Regions from separate parts of the Homo sapiens genome. Here regions 2, 3 and 4 are each linked to region 1. The links are contacts of gene promoters, found by promoter capture Hi-C in blood cells and fetal thymus (Javierre and others, 2016). All regions are on one chromosome and are shown on one strand. The core of a region is centred on a gene start or on the middle of the fragment in contact, and the rest is flanking DNA. Distances in the headings are between cores, read along the strand shown.

Evidence for each region. The method cuts DNA at HindIII sites, captures the fragments that hold promoters and counts their contacts. A CHiCAGO score of 5 or more calls a contact.
Region 2: a fragment that was not itself captured here is called in contact with the fragment with the promoter of LINC02991 in region 1 in 1 of 17 cell types (neutrophils); the score reaches 5.1 in neutrophils.
Region 3: a contact is called between a fragment that was not itself captured here and the fragment with the promoter of LINC02991 in region 1, in 1 of 17 cell types (M0 macrophages). The highest score is 5.7, in M0 macrophages.
Region 4: a fragment that was not itself captured here is called in contact with the fragment with the promoter of LINC02991 in region 1 in 1 of 17 cell types (neutrophils); the score reaches 5.4 in neutrophils.

Annotation. Positions count from the first base shown.
Region 1 is chr2:239,576,357-239,580,008 of GRCh38, reverse strand. It overlaps LINC02991 (long intergenic non-protein coding RNA 2991), which reads right to left and starts at 1,708. Exons shown (of 2, transcript NR_172921.1): 1 at 1,085-1,708. The HindIII fragment of the contact is 7,503 bases long and covers 1-3,598 here.
Region 2 is chr2:239,334,835-239,338,486 of GRCh38, reverse strand. The region is part of intron 2 of HDAC4 (histone deacetylase 4); the gene reads left to right. Among named protein-coding and RNA genes, the nearest start is that of MIR2467, 15 kb to the left of the region's middle. The HindIII fragment of the contact is 2,673 bases long and covers 731-3,403 here.
Region 3 is chr2:239,393,517-239,397,168 of GRCh38, reverse strand. The region is part of intron 1 of HDAC4 (histone deacetylase 4); the gene reads left to right. Among named protein-coding and RNA genes, the nearest start is that of HDAC4, 5.7 kb to the left of the region's middle. The HindIII fragment of the contact is 2,450 bases long and covers 530-2,979 here.
Region 4 is chr2:239,413,087-239,416,738 of GRCh38, reverse strand. No RefSeq gene overlaps it. Among named protein-coding and RNA genes, the nearest start is that of HDAC4-AS1, 13 kb to the right of the region's middle. The HindIII fragment of the contact is 1,876 bases long and covers 979-2,854 here.

The sequences.
Region 1 (3,652 bases), core at 459-2,958:
GCTGCCTCAGGGTGAAACCTCTGCCCACAGACCTAAAGGAGGAACTTTAGTAAAAGCAGCAAATAGGCCTTTCTCCACTGATAGGGTTTGGCTGTGTCCCCACCCAAATCTCACCTTGAATTGTAATAATCCCCAGATGTCAAGGGCGGAGCCAGGTGGAGATAATTGAATCATGGGGGCATTTTCCCCCATACTGTTCTCATGGTCGTGAGTTAGTTTCTTGAGATCTGATGGTTTTATAAAGGGGAGTTCCCCTCCACAAACGCTCTTGCCTGCCACCATGTAAGACGTGACTCTGCTCCTCATTCACTTTCTGCCATGATTGAGAGGCCTCCCCAGCCATGTGGTAATGTGAGCCCATTAAACCTCTTTCCTTTATAAATTACCCAGTCTTGGGTATGTTTTCATTAGTAGTGTGAAAACAGACTAATATACATCCACCTAGGGTTTAAAAGGCCTGTACAGCAGAGCCTTCATCCTCTTTAACCAAATGCTAGCCTTAGACACACCTGCCTCTGAAAAGAGGCCTCTGCACTGCTGGGCTCCATCTGGCTGCAGGGGCCCTGACAGGGTGGCCACCGGAGCAAGGTCACCAGGATAGGCATACGTCAGGGCTTCCTTAAGGCCCAGCCTGGCCCCTCGTCCCTCTGCAGAGGGCGGCACATCTTTGGTCAGTGCCTGCTGCACACTTCCTGCTTCCCTGGAATACCCCTCGCCTGTGGGCGAAGCCTTGATCAGCAAGGTTCAAGGTCAGGCATGGCATGGCCTGAGCTCAAGGTCTCATGCCCGGGCCACAGGGGTCCAGGCCTCACCCAGGAGAACCATTGCAGACCTCAAGGTCAAACGTGCTGTTTGGAATCTAAGCCGAAAGGCCCAAAGCCACACGTCGCGCCCAGTGAAGCCCTCTCACTGTGTGTTCTGCCCTCCTCACCCCATCACCTCTTATTTCTCAAAGTTCCTCACTCCAGGAACTGAGGGCCTTTGAGAGTGCTTAATACTAAGAGCACCTCTTCCCCATGCAGGTTCAGAACAAGTTGGACATGAGATAAAGAATAAAACACATAGAACTCAAATTATTACTTACTCCTAACAAATGCCAAGGTGAAAGTCTTAGCTTTGTGTGGGGGCCAAATAACCTTCTTAATTGAACCCAGAGTAAGAGCCTCTGACTCAGGGGTGCAGGGCTGGACCAGGGCAGACATCCTAGCACCAGCACACACGGTGGGGCAGGAACCCTCAAGGGAACAGCGTCTCTGCAATCGGACGGCATCCAAGAGAAGCAGGTACGATGGTGGATTCAGTGAAGCAGACGCCCTCGCAATGTGGATGGGCCTCATCCAACCCATTGAAGACCTGAGTAGAACACAAAGGTGGAGAGAGAACCCTCCCTCTGCCTGCCTGCTGGAGCTGGAACACTGACCTTCTCTTGCTCTCAGGCTGGAAGTGTGCTGTCGTCGGCGTGCCTGGTTCTCGGGCCTCCAGGCTCTGGCTAGGGCTGCAGCACAGACTCTCCTGCCTTTCCAGCTTGCAGACGACAGGGTGTAGGACCCCTCAGCCTCTGTAATCATGCGAGCCCATTCCATTTCTTATAGCAATGCATCTCTAACTCCATTTCTCTGGAGAACCTTGACTAATACGGGAGAGAAGGAGGAGGGTCTGGGCCTTACAAGGCCCTGGCTCCCGTCAGCACACAGCCCAAGACAGTGACGGGATTTAGCTCAAGGCCAGGGGTACTTAGGGAAAATCCCGATTTCTGGAAATCTGAGAAATTAGAGATTTATCCCCATTTTCTACCCCCAACTGCATCATGAAATAAACATTTCGTTTCTACAAACGGGAACTCTGAATTCCAAGGCCGCATCCACCCGCCCCTTGGTGGGTTGCTCGTGTGTCTGGCTGGGCGGTGGCACAGGGGGATTTCGCAAGGCCTCAAAGCCCAGGCTCCCAGCTCCGCTCCTCCTACCCTTCATAGCCCGAGTGCCTGTGCTGGGATTTCAGGGCCTTTCTCCTACCTCTGAGATCCTTTGTCACTTTTCCAAGGAGATGGAAGTCTGGAATGAGGTGAGCCATGTCTCCATGGAGCACACTTTGTAGATGGAAACTTCTTTCTCCAGTGAAGACTCTGAGATGGACCAGGAGGAGAGCATCATGACCCTCAAGGAGAAATTGGCAGAATCTATCTGTGTAGGTCACAGCCTTGGTCCAGGGACCTGAGGGAGCCTAGTGGCCCCTGGAGGCATCACCTGGAGGTTTTCATGTAAGTTAATGTGACTGGATGGGGGTGTGGCCCCTGGTCACCACCCAGCACAAGTGACACAGCCAGCGCGGAGACATCAGCTGCCTCTCTCCACGTCCCTTCAGGCCCATGTCACAGCTGCACTGGGGAAACTGAGGCAGCTTAGCAGCCTCCATGATGCTGGTGGAGCTGGAGGAGGCCTGACTCTTCCAGAGAACGCCCTGCAGAGCCACAGGGCATGTGTAGCATCTGGGCGGCACCTGGCTCTCTCCCTGCTCCCCTGGGACTTCCAGCGAGCTCTCTTCCTGCCTTCGGAGCCATCTCAGTGCTCACAGCTCACAGTGACATTGGGAGGGGTCCCTATGCCTGTGAAGTGTTGGCGGGAGGAGAAAAACATCTGTGTTTAGCATAGCATAAAAAATCTCATTTTACAGTAGAAAAGTCTATCCCATGACGCAGACACAACAAACATATAAAACCCGCTTCCTGCTGCAGCTTCAAGGAGGACAATCTGGAGCTCTCTTAGGCGACCTTCCAGGAATCCCTTGCTCATCCTTAAAAATAAATCTTTCCTGTTGCTTCCCCAGTCTCTACACCCAAACACCAATCTTAGTGGCCCAACAAAGATCTTGAAGTATATCTACATAGGTATTAGCAAAACTTTATTTAAACAAGATATTCAGTGGATAATCAGGCATCCTCACTTTACATGCATGAGGACCAGCATGTACACAAAATGGTGCATTTCCAACCCCTGCAGGACCAAAGTCAAGTTATGGACAAGGGGTGGCATGATGTAAGGCAGGCGGCTGAGCTTTGGACTTGGAGGTCAGAGACCTAAGATTTGGAGTAGACACATGGGGTAGCGCTGGCTGCCTTTGAGAAATGACGCTCTGGCCATTCTTGAGTTTGTATTTTCCTTCACCAACTTTCCCGGAAGCACGGAGACACCGGGTTCACCCTTCCTGCTTGTGATCATGAGACACAAGGGGCAGGACAATTGTCTGATCCATTTGTATCGAGTGTGATTACCCCGTAGCAGAAGCCATCAGTGCTCTGCCCAGAGCCCCCAGGTCCCTGTGAGGGGTTCTGAGCCCCTTCCCCAACTTCCCTGTGCTTTTGCTGAGAATACCCCACACCACTGACCTTGGACCACCAGAGCTACTTTTCCCAGCTGAAGTCCCTGGGAGTTCATGTCCCTCCAGGGCAGCTCATGGCCACTGGCTGAGTGACCTGGGGAAACAGGGCAGAAGCTATTTTCAAAAATAACCACAGCAGTATTTTTTATTCCACCTGTTTTTTCAGTAACTTTCTGCACTCCCCACACCAAGGGGTGGAATCCAAGTCCCCTCCCTTTAAGCTTGGGGCAGCCATTGTGACTGCCTCAGTGTAGAACAGGCTGGAAATGACTGTGTG
Region 2 (3,652 bases), core at 818-3,317, 240 kb after region 1:
ATTTGATGTTTGCACTAGGGGGTTGGACGAAGGTCGGTGTGAGAATCTCAGGGATAACTGGGCTGCTGCAGGGGTCAGACAAGGCCTCCTGTAATAGGGATTTTGGGGCACTGATGGAATGAAGGGAAGCGGGAGGAGAGGGTAACGAGTAGAGGCTGCCGCTGCCCCAGTTGTATTAGAGGGTGGTGAGGGACGTGGTGGATAGGAAGCTGCATGGGCCTCCAGGAACTCACTGCACTGGCTTTGAGTCGCGAGAGAGGTGCCACGGGAGGTCTAGAAACCGTGCATTTTGGGACTGAGATAAAACACGTCCAGCTGGTGGCACAGACCAAGCCAGCTGGGAGCGGAGTTGTCTCTCTGTGCTTGTCTGGAGTACCTGCCTGTGCTCTCTGAGCAGCCTCTGCACCTGGCTGGTGGGCGGGGCTGAGCCTCACCTTCAAGGCTGCAGATTCCCTGGCTTTCGGTGTGCTGGGGGATGCCTTCTGCATGGCCTGGCTTTCCTGGGATTTCCAGACCAGATCCACCTCTTTCTCCCCTTTTTCTTTGTCTTTCTGCCCCCGAAGAGATAGCAGTGTACAAAAACAAGCCAGCATTTCTTGTTCTCTTGCTATTTGTAATTGTCCCGAGCCTGGACTGGGTCCAGTCCGCTCATTTATTCTGCCAGGGCCCAGTCTGCAGATCTCAGCCGAAGCCGGTTGTCCTGCCTGGCTCGCTCTGTTCCTGGAAAGCTTTGTCACGCACAGCCAGGGGCCACTTTGGGTGCATCCTGTCTCCCCCGTCGCCGTATGTTTGGGAGCAGAAGTTGGCTCTGGTCAGATATGTGGATGTTAATTTATCCTCATTCTTGGAAGCAAGTTGGGAGCTCAGAGGAAAGGAAGAGCCACAAAATGTCAAACCCAGCAGCGGCCATCTGACTCGGTTGCTCATCGCTATAATATGTGATTAAGATGGAAGTGTTTGATTTCCTCGCTTGCCGGATTTAGGCCTCATTTTGCTTACTCCCGTGAGTCCTGATTTCTTCCTGTTAGAGAGAGGAAGTTTGCAGCGATAACCGACTTGCAGTGGGGTTTTCTGTGAATGGAGCTTGTATTGGTGCGATGTGTGGCGTGGGAGTCCCCACCGGTTAGTGGCTTATGCAGGGTGTGAGTTTCTCTCAAAGTGGACGTTTTCTGCCTTCCCGGAGCCAAAACGTTTATTTCGCCGGTGAGTACAGCTGAGTCTCACGTGCATCTGACAGCAGTGTCTCCGAGCCTTGCCATTTCCTCCACTCCCTCCCTTGGAGCCGTTTGTGTGACAACCTGCTGTTCAGTAAAACCAGTTTAGTGGAGTGGGTGTGTGTTAATTCTAGTCCATGTGTTTAAAAATCAATTCATATGATGAGAATGGCACTTTCCCCCGTGGTCTTCCTCTCAGTAACCCATAGCCCCAGTCCAACCATGGGAAAAACATCAGACAAATTCCAGTAGACACCCTTCCTACAGTCTACTCTTGCCAGGCCCACTCGATATGCCAAGGTCATCAGAAACAAGCATCCTTTGAGAAACTGTCACCACCAGGAGGGATCTCAGGACATGCGACACCTAAGTGTGATGTGGAATTCCTGGATGGGATCCTGGATGGATCTTGGAATACAGTAAAAGACATTAGTGGGAAACTTCAGGAAATCCTAAACTCTAGAATTTTAGTTAATGACAGTAATGTCAGTATTGGTTCCCAATTGTGACTAACATACCGTAGTAAGGTAGGATGCTAATAATCGCGGGGAATGTGCAGGTGGTATTGGTAGGGTATATGGCAGCTCTCTCTACTGTCTACTCAAGTTTTAATAAAATATGTCAAGAATTTTGAGTTCACAAAATGAAGTACATTTATAGATACTCTCTTTTGCTTAATGTTTGTTCATGAATGGCTGTATACTGTAGTTACTTTAGCACCTAGCTTTTACAGTTTTTCCTTTGGGGACTCTTTTTTTTATGGTTGTGCATGGATGTGGTAGAGTAACTTAACAAGTCATTGTTGGTGGACAGGGAGTTTGTTTTCAGCCTTTCCATTGTTGTTATTATAAACATGTAGCCTTGAAGACCGCCAATGTCTAAGTGAACTTTTTAACTGAAGTATCACAGGCATCCAGGAAAGTGCAAGAATCATGACTGCTTAGCTTGATGAACTCTCCCAAAAGGAAGATGCCTGTAACTGCTACCCAGATTGTGAAATGGGACATCCCAACACCCAGAAGCCCCGTATATGTCCTCTCTCAGTTACTGTACCCTCACTCTCACACCCTCTAGATACCACTTCTCTAGCTTCTAACATGAGTTTCTCCTGGTTTTGAACGTCATATAAATCACGTAATACTTATTCTTATTGTCTGGATTATTTCACTTGACAATATGTTAGATTTATTGATATTGTGGCTTATAGTAGTAGTTTCTTCATTTAATGGGTATATAATATTTCATTGTATGAACATATCACAAATTATTTATTGGTTCAATTGCTGATGACATTTTGGTGGTTTCCAGTTTGGAATTATGTATAATGCTACTGTAACATTCTTGTATATTTCAATTGGTTCATATAAGTATGCAATTCTTTTGATAAGGTGTATGTGTGCCAAACAGTTCTTCAAATTGATTGTACCAATTTACACTCTGACCTATAGAATGTTGCTCTGTCCTTGCCAATACATGGTACTGTAATTCTTTTTCATTTTAACTATTGTAGTTTCATTTGTATTTCCCAGATTACTAAAAATGTTGAATACCTTTTCATACGTTTATTGACCAACTAGATGTCATCTTTGGTGGAGAAGTTTCTATTCATTTAAGAAATTGGTTTGTCTTTATTTTTCTTACTGAGTTGTAGGAGCTATTTCTGTACACTGGCTATGAATGAGCTTTTTGTTGTTTGTTGCTATTTTCTATGTGTGTGCTGCGTTTTCCCTTTCTTAATGGTGTTTTTTTTTTTTTTTTTTTTTTGCTGAACAGATGCTCTTAATTTTAATAGTCCAATTTAATAGTTTTATCTATGCCTATTTGAAGATATTCTATATTATTTTTGATAAACTTCATTGTTCTATCACTCATTTAGATCTGTGATCCACTGGGAATTTTTTTTTTTTTATGTGTGAGGTAGGGATTGAGAGTTACTTTTCCGTTTGGAAATTCAGTTGGCCTAACAGTATTTATTTAAAAGAGTCATCCTTTCTTCTCTGCTATCCAATGCAACTTTGTCATAAGTGAAATAAATTATATAAATGGATCTGTTTTTGCACTTTATTCTAGTTCATTGGTCTGTTTGCATATCTGTGTACCAGTGCAACACTGTCTTAACTAATAGATTTGCAGTTAACCATAGTATCTAATAATGTAGGTCTTCCAACTTTTTAAAACTTTTCAAAGCTTGTTTTGGTTCTTTTTAGCCCTTTGCATTTCCATATGGATTTTTTTTTTTTTTTTTTTTGAGATGGAGTCTTGCTCTGTCTTCCAGGCTGGAGTGCAGTGGCACGATCTTGGCTCACTGCAAGCTCCGCCTCCCAGGTTCACGCCATTCTCCTGCCTTAGCCTCCCCAGCAGCTGGGACTACAGGTGCACGCCACCATGCCCAGCTAATTTTTTTGTATTTTTTAGTAGAGGGGGGTGTTTCACCGTGT
Region 3 (3,652 bases), core at 505-3,004, 180 kb after region 1:
CTTGTCGAGGTGCTTGGGCGAACACAGCCTCTTAGAGAAGAGGACGATTTGGAATACCTTTCTAGTTCAGTGTCGTTAGACTTTCTAGTGCTGTGTTGACTGTTCTTGGCGCTGTTACAGGCGCGTTTCATAGGTCTGGGCAGTACTTCTGGCTTTCTCATGCTGTCTTATGTCACGTGTGGGACTGCAGAACTAGAAGACATCATGTTCTTCTCCTGCAAAGTCCCCAGGACGCCTGGAGGCAGGTGGGGGTGACGGAAGGGAGCTAATGCTCCAAGTCCACTTCAGCCGGAGCAGCTTTTAGTGTTTGTTGTTCGGTCTGTTGATTACCTTGGAAGATTTTATTGGAAGAAAGCATTTGAGGACCAAGTTAATCTACTCTTTCAATACCAACCCAGAAACCTTAAAGAAAATCTTGACAGATTTAATAGGATAAGAGTTTTTTAAAAAATCTCTTTGGCAAAAGACTCCGTCAGCCGGGCTAAGAGACGAGAGAGAAAATACATACCACATTATGCCTGTGTAAGCTTAACAGTCAATATATAAAGAGCTTTTACAGACCAATAAGGAGAGCATGAGATCACCATTGCAAGATGAGCAGAACGTATGAACATTGAATCATTGTGCCAGTGATGAAAGGTTAGCATTACTAATCAATTCAGTGTGAAGGAGATTCCCTTTATGCCTATCATATTGGCGAGTTTGATGATACCTGTTGCTGGTCATAATAATAATTTCTATTTTGTAAGGTTTTTGCAAAGTTTAAGTTAATGTATGGAAATTTCCTTGAATAGGGCCTGGCATGTAGTAAGCATGATATAAATGTTGGCTGTTATTTATTATCATTTGCTCTCTGGAGAGACCCATATGTATTATTATATAAAATATAATAGGGCTGGGCGAGGTACCTTATGCCTGTAATCCCAGAACTTTGGGAGGCCAAGGTGAGAGGATCACTTGAGCCCAGGAGTTCAAGACCAGCCTGGGCAACATAGTGAGACCCTCATCTCTACAAAAAAAAAAAAAAAATCAGGCATGACGTCGTGTGCCTGTAGTCCCCATTACTTGGGAGGCTGTGGCAGGAGAATCACGTGAGCCTGGAAAGTCAAGGTTGCAGTGAGGTGTGATTTTGCCACTGCACTTCAGCCTGAGTGACACAGCGAGACCCTGGGCTGTCCCCCCCAAAAAAGTTTATATATGTAATGTATAAACATAAAATAGTGATTACCGAATTGCTCTCTAGAAAAGTCTTAAGTGTCAAAATCTTAAATGCCATTCTCCTTGTCCCCACAGTTCTACATTTTGAAATCTATTCTAAGGAAAGAAGATAAGTGTGTAGATATCCAGACGTGTGTGGAGGTCGGGGCTGCATTATTTATAAAAGGAGTACTTGTTAAACCTGCTGGCATTTCTGCACTGTGGCATCCTCCATGTGTAGACAGGCAGAAGTGTGCAGTGTAAGAGGGAAAGGCGGGGTCTGGAGCAGTCCCCGGGCCACTCCTGGTTTTAAGTACATGGGTCTCTAAGGTAACCATCAGAGGTGAGGAGACGGGGTACACTTTTCTTTTATACATGGTGGTATTGTAGAGATTCTTTTGGTAAGCGTGTATTACTTTTTTACAGTAGTAATTTGAAAACATTTAGATATCTTCATTGGAAAGAAAAGTACTCTTTAAGTCCTTGGCAAGTTGATAAATATGCTTTGCAATAGAAGAATTTAGGGGCATTTGTTTTTCTAACTCACATGTAAGCTCTTCAAGGTGGGGACTGACCCTCGGGGTCTGAGCGGGCTCTGCTACAGCCCATCCTACAAACAGTCTCCCAGGTTTCCACCAGAAGCAGGTTTGTACCTCTCATTCCCTTGCTTGAAACCCTGGCATGACTTTCCTGTATTCTTAGGATCCTAAGGTCTCAGGGCCCTGGAAGGCCTGCCTGATCCTGGCCTCTGTTTTACCAGCCTCATCTGATAGCACTTGCTGTGTTTGTGGAGTTTCAGCTGCCACCTGCTTTACTTTCTAGCTCTCTCTAAGTCCCCTTTGACCTCGGGGCCTTTGCACACACTGTTCCCCTTCCTTGGAATGGCCTCCCTTTACCTTCCTCTTCTCCAGCCCCTCAGTTCATGCTCATCCTCTCATCCTTTGATCCCCTGTTAAACTTAGCCTAATAGCTTTTTTCCTCCTTTCTAACAGCATCCCATTGTGCAATTTCAGGAAGGAGCTCATTGTGACCTTAGTTGTTTAATGCCACCTTTTCTACTAGCTGGGGCTCTGTAGGATTGAGGGGCCCTGAGGGCCTCATGCCTGCTCTGTACCCTGTGCTTGGCAGTGTAGGTGCTCGAAGAATGAAAGAAAATGAATGAGTGAATGAATGAATGGATGAGTAGGTAGCCCAGTGAATGGCACAATGCGGGCCTTGGGTGGGAGAGCTGGGGTGAGGCCCCACCTCTGGCCTGGCCCCTCTGCGGGGTTCTTGCCAGTGCTCTGGAATTGCCTGTTTCCTGACACCCCCTGCCCCCATCTGGGAACTTCTTGGTCCTGATTTTGGAGATTACATGCTCCTAAGGAGATGTCATAAATGCAAGTGGAGGGAATTCTGTGATGCAGAAAGGAATGGGAGGGAGAAGGGCCTTCAACACAGCTGTCGAGTGGCAAATGCGACTGTTGTGCCAAGGCCAAGGCAGGTGTGTGCAGCTTGTTCTCCAGCCGCTTCGCCCAGGGCCCCGGCGTGTGAGGAGGCGAGTGGTGCTTTTATGAAGAAGTTTTTCTCTGCTTGTTTTAAATTAGAATTAATGACATTATTTAATCACTTCTTATTTAGCGTCATAATTTTAATATGATACATTAATATGTTTGTGTACATAAACATTTTGGAGTCTGCTCTGTTTAAAAATGTGAGTGTTGGGCTTTGTGAGTTTACTGTTGTTTATGAAGTACTCCGTCTGTGTGAGTCAAGTGCTTTTGCTGGATTGATGTTTAAGCTTGAAACAATAAATCAGTTCTTAGGACCTGAAAGTCTGAACCAGCATTCCAAGTGGGAGTATTGTTCAAGCGGTGATGGAATTGCATTTTCCCTTGGGAATGGCCCATCATCTGGTTTATGTGTTGCTATTTGCTGGAGCGGTTCTTTTTTAAACTGAGGAAGAGAAGTTTCTGTGGTATCTCCACTGGCCTCCCTGGTGGTGGGGTTGGGGGTGGAGGGGGGGTGGTCCTTGGGGGCCATGTTCCCTGAATATTTCTAATTGATTAGTTATTATTTTGCAAATACTCATTTTACACCCCAGCCCAAGTACTAGGTTTTACATGAGATGAGACTCAGTTGAACACATTCTCTGTGCCAGACGCAGTGGCCAGCCCCATGACCCCAGGCTTGATCAGGAAAACTGGCCTCTGCCCACAAGAGGCTTTGGTGTTGGTAGGGACAGAGGAGAAAAAGGAGCTAAACAGGCAGGTGCACACGGGTCACCATCCTGAGAACCAGGGCTGTGGCTGGAGGGCTTGCTTGGTAGGGAGAGCCGTGGTGCAGGAGCCAGGCCCAGATGAGGAGGAGGAAGGGGAGGCTGGGTGGGTGGGAATGGGGTGTGGTCCTTTTTAGCCAGAGCCAGAGTTTCGGGGCTGCATTGTGAAAAGGGCATTGTGGCCAGATGGTGGCCTGG
Region 4 (3,652 bases), core at 667-3,166, 160 kb after region 1:
GGCATGGTGGCGCATGCCTGTAATCCTAGCTACTCAGGAGGCTGAGAGAATCGCTTGAACCCAGGAGGCAGAAGTTGTGGTGAGCCAAGATCGTGCCATTGCACTCCAGCCTGGGCAACAAGAGCAAAACTCTGTCACACACACATATACGGAAAAAAACACCAAAAAACAAAAAAACAAAACCATCAGATCTCATGACACTTACTCACTATCACAAAAACAGCATGGGAAAGATCCACCCCCATGATTCAATTACCTCCCATGGGTCCCTCCCACAACACATGGAAATTGTGGGCGGTATAATTCAAGATGAGATTTGGGTGGGGACACAGCCAAACCATATCACTGGATCATATATATGGTAGGTGGATGTTTACCAATGGGAAAAAACTGCAACGCAACAAGACGCCTTTTTTTTGCATTGGCTGCACCACTTTGCATTCCCATCAGCCAGACGTGAGAGTTGCAGTTGTTCTGCATCCCCATCAGCCTCATAGTCTCCACTGTGTTTTCTTTCAGCCCAGCAGATAGATGTGAAGTGGCAGCGCATTGTGGTTTGAATTTGCATTTCCCCAATGGCTAATGATATTGAACAGTGATGTCAAATTTATTAATATTTTCCTTCATGGCTTCTGGCTTCTGTGTGCTATGAAAGAAATCTTTTCATGGGACATAAAACTATTCCTACCCCATTTCCTTCTAAGACTCTGAAGTTTTACTTTTTCGTATATAGACTATTTTTCTGCCAAGTTTATGTGTTTGATGTGAAATGTAATTTTATTTTTCTTTTGTTTAATATGGAGAACCCATTGTCCAAGTATCAATGATTTAGTCGTCTTTCTCCTCTGCTCCGTAATGCAATCTCTGTCATAGATCAAGTTTCCATACATACATGTGCTGCTGCCTGGACCCTGTTCTGTTATGCCGCTGTATTTGTCTATTCCTGTGCCAAGGCCATGTGGCACAATTCCTAAAGCTTAGAATAGATCTTGACATTTGGGTAAAACACCTCCCCTCCACCACTGTGTTATTTATCAAAATTGCCTTGCCTATTCTCAGCTCTTTGCTATTTAATGATTTTCAGAAGTGATTTGCCAAAAATTGCATTGAGGTTTTAAAATGCATTGAAGAGAATCATCATTTTTTACAATTTTCAGCTTTTCCATCCATGGATATGGTATTCATTTAATTGAATCCGAGATGCCATCAAGTAGAAGATGCACCATTATTTTATGTGCTATGAGGAAACAGAAAGTGCTGCCAATTGATCTACGACACGAAACTATGACACAGTTAATTTTAAGACATATTTGATTTCTGAGATGTTAAAAATGTGAAAAAATGCATGTTTCAGAATTGATGAAATTTGGTGTATACCATCAGTTATTTGGTTCCGTTTAAAATATATTTCAGTAAGTTTCACAACTGTTTCCACGAATATCTTTTACAAGTTTTGTTAGGTCTATCCCTAGGCAGCATGAAGTTTTTGCACTGTAAATGGTGTCTTTAGAATTCTAAGTGTTTCTGTGTATAGAAATACGATGAATTTTGATGTATGGATCTTATGTCTGGAAAACTTCCTGAGCTTCCCTATCAGTTCAAATAGTTTGCCTATAGATTCTCTTGATGTCATCTTTTTGCCATTGATTTCTAGCCCTATCACAGTTTGGTAAGAGAATATATTCTGTATGATATCAATTCTTTGAAATGTGTTGAGATTGGCCTTCTGGCCTAGTGTGTAGCCTTAGCCAGTGTTTATATGTTCCATGAATGCCTGAAAAAAAAATGTGCTTCCTCATTTAGGAGTGTAGGATTCTTTTGATATGGGGACATTAGTATAACCATGTTAATTAATTCAAATCTTGTATATATCAGTTATCAAATGAGTAGTATTCTACAATATTATGGATTTATAAATTTCTCCTTAGAATTTTTAAAATTTTTTCTTTATATTATTTTGGGGCTAAATCACTAAATGCAAAAAGTTTAAATTGATTTATCTTCCTGGTGAATTGTCCCTCTTACCCTTATGCAGTGGCCACCTTTATCTCCAAAAATGTTTTCTTTCCTCTGGGTCAATTTTGACTGACATTATAACAACAGATACTTCTTGTGATTTGTGTTGGCTAAGAACATCATTTTTTTTTTGCCCCGCTCAGACTATTAGCTTTGCAGAATTTTCATGTTTCATGCTATCGCTTGTAAAAAAAAAAAAAAATAGGGAGATGGCTTTTATTTTTAAGCCCAACCTGGCAGTCTGTCTTTAACTGGCAAATTTAGTCCATTTACATTCATTGTGAATACTGATATATTTGGACATATTTCCCAGTTTCACTTTTGGTTTTACCCTACTCTTTCTATGCCTCTTTTGTTTTCCCCCATTTGGATTGATTGATCTTCCCACCTCTTTTTCTCCTTTCTTTTTTTCTGTCCCCTCTGCTGCTTTGGAAGTTATATATTTTATTTCAAGTGGTTTAGTGTTTTCTTTAAAAATTTGAACAAACATTTTTTGCTTAACAAAATACAAATGTATACTTCCTACCAACACTAGGAATGCAGAGAGCTTCAACTCCAACGTCCCCTCATGCCTTATAAGCTATATTATTGTATGCCAGACACCACCCATCACCTTATCTTATATCATGTATGCTATAGCTCATGCCTGCTTAGATTTACTCACACAATGTCTTTGCACTCCATTTTCTTGCAACTAATTTACTGTCTTGGCCAGGGCAGGGCTCCAGAGAGCAGGGAGGCCAATTCAAGGGCTTACACTGGGCCTTTCCTATCATGATACCTGTTGCCCAAGAGGTGAAGAGGCTCTGCAATCTACTAAATACATCCATCCTAAGCTTAAACTAATGTTTATATATCAAAATAATTTTGGCCGGATGTGGTGGCTCATGCCTGTAATCCCAGCACTTTGGGAGGCCGAGGCAGGCGGATCACGCGAGGTCAGGAGTTTGATAACAGCCTGGCCAACATGGTGAAATCTTGTCTCTACTAAAAGTTACAAAAATTAGCTGTGCGTGGTGATGTGTGCCTGTAGTCCCAACTACTTGGGAGGCTGAGTCAGGAGAATCTCTTGAACCCAGGAAGCGGAGGTTGCAGTGAGCAGAGATTGTGCCACTGCACTCCAGCCTGGGTGAAAGAGTGAGACTCTGTCTCGAAAAATAATAATAATAATAATAATTTTGCACTCCTAAATTAGGAAACACGTTCTTTTCAGGCATACATGAAACATTGACAAACACCGGCTATGACCACACATCAGGTCACAAAACAAATATTAACATATACCAGTGAATCAGTACCACATATAGTCAAGGGCTGGAGAAGTGAGCACAGGGAGGTCTGCAAATCCCTTAGACCCACTGTGACAGACGTGGTGTGGGAAGGAGAATTCTTCGAGGGCACCAAGATTCTGGCGCATAGTGACGGATGGCAGGATTTGCAAATATGATGGGATATCCCTCCCGCAATTATGCAACCATAGGAGAGGCAACACTCTACTTCTACCTCTTAGGGTTCCCAGATAGGCCTGAGAATTCACTTGGCATAAGACAGATTAACAGCAGAAAAGCATACCGATTTATTTAATCTAAATTTTATGTAACACAGGAAACCTCATTAGGAAATGAACAGAAAGAAC